Linked DNA regions of Homo sapiens: region 1 is linked to region 2. The links are contacts of gene promoters, found by promoter capture Hi-C in blood cells and fetal thymus (Javierre and others, 2016). All regions are on one chromosome and are shown on one strand. The core of a region is centred on a gene start or on the middle of the fragment in contact, and the rest is flanking DNA. Distances in the headings are between cores, read along the strand shown. Region 1 overlaps RNF168 (ring finger protein 168). Region 2 holds the start of TM4SF19 (transmembrane 4 L six family member 19).

Region 1 (2,809 bases), core at 204-2,703, 130 kb before region 2:
AGAAGGAGTTAAGAGCTGGGATGAGGCTGGATGGGGTGACTGACAGTCCAGATCATTGAAACAGATTGGGTCGTCGGAAACTGGTCCAGATGAGGCTGGATGGGGTGACTGACAGTCTGGATCATTGAAACTGATTAGGTCGTCAGAAACGGGTCCAGACGAGGATGAGGCTGAGGCTGGATGGGGTGACTGACAGTCTGGATCATTGAAACTGATTGGGTGGTTGGTCAGAAACGGGTCCAGATGAGGATGAGGCTGAGGCTGGATGGGGTGACTGACAGTCTGGATCATTGAAACTGATTGGGTGGTTGGTCAGAAACGGGTCCAGATGAGGATGAGGCTGGATGGGGTGACTGACAGTCTGGATCATTGAAACTGATTGGGTCGTCAGAAACTGGTCCAGATGAGGCTGGGTGGGGTGACTGACAGTTTGGATCATTGAAACTGATTGGGTGGTCAGAAACTGGTCCAGATGAGGATGTGGCTGGATGGGGTGACTGACAGTCTGGATCATTGAAACTGATTGGGTGGTCAGAAACTGGTCCAGATGAGGATGTGGCTGGATGGGGTGACTGACAGTCTGGATCATTGAAACTGATTGGGTGGTGAGAAATGGGTCCAGATGAGGATGAGGCTGGATGGGGTGACTGACAGTCTGGATCATTGAAACTGATTGGGTGGTGAGAAATGGGTCCAGATGAGGATGAGGCTGGATGGGGTGACTGACAGTCTGGATCATTGAAACTGGTCCACTATGACGCAGCAGGGGCAGTTTGGCAGAGCATCCTCTTCCCTTGTCCTTGTGAAAGAACACAGGAAACATTTGGGTTTTACAGCTTTTCACACCCTACTATCAGGCATCAGAATCAAAATTAGTTACTAAATTGGGTGAATTTTTGGAAACCTGCATTTCTATGCATCTGCTATTCCAGAAAAAAATGGGAATGTATTACAGGAGAGTTACCTCACAGTGTCTTATGTTGTGGAACCTGAAACATAACCACGTGTTTTCTTATATGATCATTTGTGTTGATACTGCTTTTATTTGAGTTTATGAACAGAAATAGAAAGTATGGTGCTTGGGTTTTGCCCTTTCTTACTCCTGAAAGTTAAATCAGAAGACACTGATTTCATTTTGTGAAATTTAGCTCAGAGACTATTGATCTTTTGTTTCATTAATATGAACAACTATTAGTAAAAAATAGCTTTAACAGCATTTCTGCTGATATCTAGTAATCTATTCTTTTAATGTGAAAATAAGATAAAATGTCCTGGAGCTAATTCTAGCTTAAATTTGCCAGTATTTCTGTATGTCATTAAGTTTTTTTCCTCTAAGGTTGGTAATAGAATTTTGTTAATCTTTGCATACCTGATGGCATCTATGTCAATGCTGATTGGGTAATTATAAATTCTGTGCTAATTTAAAACTTAATTTGCCTCTTAAGGTGATTGTCCTCTGAGTAATGATTGTAGTTAAATGAAGTATAGCTTGCAACTATACTATCACATGGGTCGTTAAGTAAAAATAAATAAACCAAATTTGTCTGAGACAGGCTAAGATCAATCTTCTCATCAAACCAATTTTTCTCTAAGAGCAATTTCACTTTCAGTTTTAGGGTGGACATTCTTGAATGCCTCAAATTAAACGTTATCTATTTAATCTTCCTGGAATAGTCTGTGACCAAAAAGGAGGGTGTGATATATTTAGGTGTAAATATATCACATATATGGTGTGATATATTTGGGATTTATATATTCAGCTCATTCTCTGTGAAGAAGTCTTCCTGACTAAAATTGGTTTCAAGATAAACTAATTTCTGTTAGTATTTCTACTCTGCCTACCATGTATGCCTTTTTGTTAGAAACTAATAAATGTATCAGTCACTAGCAGGTACTGGTCCTTTTTCCTCTCATTTTTGTGGAAAGGATATGCAAACACTGAATTTCTCAGGGAGTACTAAGGCTGTGCAGAGGCTGAGAATCTGAAAAATAAAATACTAAAAATAAAAATGGATTATTATGTGTATTTTACCACAACTTAAAAATATGTAAAAATCAGCTACATGAAAATTAAAAGTTCTGCATAACAAAAACTACCATCAAGGGAAATTGGAAGCTGTGGCAAACTTGGGAAGAAATAGTTGCAGTTCATCACAAAGAGCTAATTTCCTTTATGTAAAGTATCCTCCAGTTCATTAAGAAAAGACCAATAACTCGGCCGTGCATGGTGGCTCACACCTGTAATCCCAGCACTTTGGGAGGCCGAGGCAGGCAGATCACCTGAAGTCAGGAGTTTGAAACCAGCCTGGCCAACATGGGGAAACGCCGTCTCTACTAAAAATACAAAAATTAGCCGGGTGTGGTGGCGTGTGCCTGTAATCCCAACTATTCGGGAGGCTGAGACAGAGAATTGCTTGAACCCAGGAGGCGGAAGTTGCAGTGAGCCAAGATTGTGCCACTGCACTCCAGCCTGGGTGACAGACTGGAGACTCCGTCTCAAAAAAAAAAAAAAAAGAAAAAAAAGAAAAGTCCTCAATAGGAGAACTAGAAATGCGTATGTTCCCAAGAAACATCATTCACAAGAAAGTAACTATAACCGGTTCTGAACTATTAGGTGAAGAGATGCATAATCTTATGCTAATACTCATAAGTTTGTTCATCCTTCAGATTAGCAAAGATAAGGGAATTTTTTGTTTTGTTTTAATCTTGGCAAGACTGCGAGGAACTAGGCATTCTTATACATTGCTTGGTATGAATAGATAATTGAAAATCTCTGGAGGTACGTTTGACTATTCTAGGAATTTCTTAA
Region 2 (2,700 bases), core at 130-2,629:
ATTTGGAATGTCCTGTATCTTGATTTCTGTGCTGGTTCACCAGGGTATACATGTAAAAATTCATCAGACTTTAACATTAAGATTTGTGCACTTTAGGCTGGGCGTGCTGGCTCACACCTGTAATCCCAGCACTTTGGGAGGCGGAGGCGGGTGGATCGCCTGAGGTCGGGAGTTTGAGACCAGCCTGACCAACATGGAGAAACCGTGTTTCTACTAAAAATACAAAATTAGCCAGGCGTGGTGGCACGTGCCTGTAATCCCAGCTACTTGGGAGGCTGAGGCAGGAGAATTGCTTGAAGCCAGGAGGCAGAGGTTGCAGTGAGCTGAGATTGTGCCACTGCACTCCAGCCTGGGAACAAGAGTGAAACTCCGTCTCAAAAAAAAAAAAAAGAAAAGAAAAGATTTGTGCACTTTACTGTATATAATATCTAGATGTTTAAAATGCAATGGGAGCATAGAGAAAGAAGTACCTAACTCGGAGTAAAGAAATCCTGGCAGACTTCACTGGGAATGTTTGAACTGAATCTTGAATAGGAGCTTGTCCATAGAGGGTCACGGATCTCCCACACAGAGAGCACCACAAAATCCTCAGCAATTTGGTGAGAGTATGGTACAAGATGATAGTGGCCTGGGGCTTGAACAAGAGGCTGAGTGCGGTGGCTCACACCTGTAATCTCAGCACTTTGGGAGGCTGAGGCGAACACCTGAGGTCAGCAGTTCGAGACCAGCCTGGCCAAAATGGCAAAACCCCGTCTCTATTAAAAATACAAACATTAGCCGGGCATGGTGGCAGGTGCCTGTAATCCCAGCTACTCAGGAGGCTGAGGTGGGAGGATTGCTTGAGTGTGGGAGGCGGAGGTTGCAGTGAGCCGAGATCATGCCACTGCACTCCAGCCTGGGTGACAGAGTGAGACCCTGTCTCAAAAAAAAAAAAAAAAAAAAGTTAGACGTCTAGTACAGGAACCATGCAACACATCGAGTCAGCCAAGGGCAAGGTAAGGAGAGTGATGAGGAAAAAGGGGTGGCTGCCCTGCTCGGTGCTGTTCTGTCAAAGAGCCGAAATTCTTCGCGGGGTGGCAGATGAGGACAGGAACAGCTGGGGTGTGGCAAGTGTTGCTGCCTGGGGAGAGCGGAGGGTGAGGTGTTTCTCACGGGTGCATCCAGTGACTCATCAGGACAGCGGAGCTCATGAGGCCATGTCTCCCGTTTCCTGCCTTAGAATCACATGAAAATGAGCAGAGGGTGGGTCATCAGGACAGGGCTCTCCGGGGAGCGGAAGCGCCTTCAATGCAGGCCTGTGGGCAGGGGCGTGGGGGCGCGCACACACACACGCCTGGGTGACCTCTACGTATATACAGAGCCTCCCTGGCCCTCCTGGAAAGAGTCCTGGAAAGACAACCTTCAGGTCCAGCCCTGGAGCTGGAGGAGTGGAGCCCCACTCTGAAGACGCAGCCTTTCTCCAGGTTCTGTCTCTCCCATTCTGATTCTTGACACCAGATGCAGGTAAGCAGAGATGAAAGGGTGAGGTGACGGCCAGGGAACAGCCTAGCCTCACAGATGAGAGTGCACGCTTCCACTCCAGTGAGCCTGGCTCTGCAGCTTGGCGTCTGTGTGACTTTGCGCCATTCACTTACCTTCTCCTGTTGCCTCAGTCTGTCAACTTCTGGCCTTTGCACCTAGAATACTCTTCCTGCCTAGTATCTCATCGTCCATCAAGTTTGGGCATGGGCAGCCCTTCCTCCGGGAAGCTTCGTTTTGCTTCTGCCAGATAGGATTAGGTTCCTCCATGTGCTTCCATGACACCTTAAGTTGGATGCCCCTGCCTGGTACTTACTGTTACCAGCTGTGAATCCAGCGAGTCTGCAGCAAACTCAATCCTTGCCTTCTCGGGGGAGAGATTCGGCTGAGGGGCAGAAGTGGGTTTAAGGCAGAGGGAGAGGCTGAAGCAAGTTTGAGAGCAGGAGTGAAGGTTTATTAAAAAGTTTTTGAGCAGCAATGAAAGGAAGTAAAGTACACTTGGAAAAGGGCCAAGTGCGTGACTTGAGACACCCAAATGTGCTGTTAGACCCTTGACTTGGCGCCTGCCTGCCGCACAGGCACTTGGGAGGGGCCGCATGCGCAGTGTGTTTACTGAAGTCGTGCGCATGCTCACTTGAGGCGTTTTTCCCTTACCCGCGGAGCAGCACTAGAGGAAGGTCACACACACCAGCTAAACTCCACCATTTTGCTTCTTAGTGTAGATGCTTGAGCCCACTCGCCCAATTCCTGAGCTCTTACCAGGAAGCTGCTGATCACCAAGTTCAGGTATTTTCTATCTATTGGGAGACTGTCTTTCCCAACGCTGGCTGTGACCAATATTATTTTAGAAAGACAGTGTAACAACCGCCTGGCCATCACCTGATAGTCACCTGACATTACTGGGGTAGAGGCCCTCTCCCGCCCTGCTCATGTCTGCTCTATTTCTTACCACACTTGATTAGAATTACTTTTTGGCCAGCCTGACCCACATGGCGAAAACCCATCACTACTAAAAATACAAAATTAGCCGGGCGTGGTGCATGCCTGTAATTCCAGCTACTTGGGAGGCTGAGGCAGGAGAATAACTTGAACCCGAGAGGCGGAGGTTGCAGTGAGCCAAGAGCATGCCGCTGCACTCCAGCCTGGGCAACAAGAGCGAGACTGTGTCTCAAAAAAAAAAAA

What was found. Contacts are between HindIII fragments. The CHiCAGO score rates a contact against its expected background, and 5 or more counts as called.
Region 1: a fragment that was not itself captured here is called in contact with the fragment with the promoter of TM4SF19 in region 2 in 1 of 17 cell types (M2 macrophages); the score reaches 5.3 in M2 macrophages.

What each region holds. Positions count from the first base shown.
Region 1 is chr3:196,467,984-196,470,792 of GRCh38, reverse strand. It overlaps RNF168 (ring finger protein 168), which reads left to right. Exons shown (of 6, transcript NM_152617.4): 6 at 1-2,010. Among named protein-coding and RNA genes, the nearest start is that of RNF168, 34 kb to the left of the region's middle. RefSeq lists a silencer at 410-586. The HindIII fragment of the contact is 4,437 bases long and covers 1-2,809 here.
Region 2 is chr3:196,337,067-196,339,766 of GRCh38, reverse strand. It overlaps TM4SF19 (transmembrane 4 L six family member 19), which reads left to right and starts at 1,379. Exons shown (of 5, transcript NM_138461.4): 1 at 1,379-1,503. It overlaps TM4SF19-DYNLT2B (TM4SF19-DYNLT2B readthrough (NMD candidate)), which reads left to right and starts at 1,347. Exons shown (of 6, transcript NR_037950.1): 1 at 1,347-1,503. RefSeq lists a silencer at 1,075-1,246 and enhancers at 995-1,289, 656-1,855. The HindIII fragment of the contact is 5,119 bases long and covers 1-1,750 here.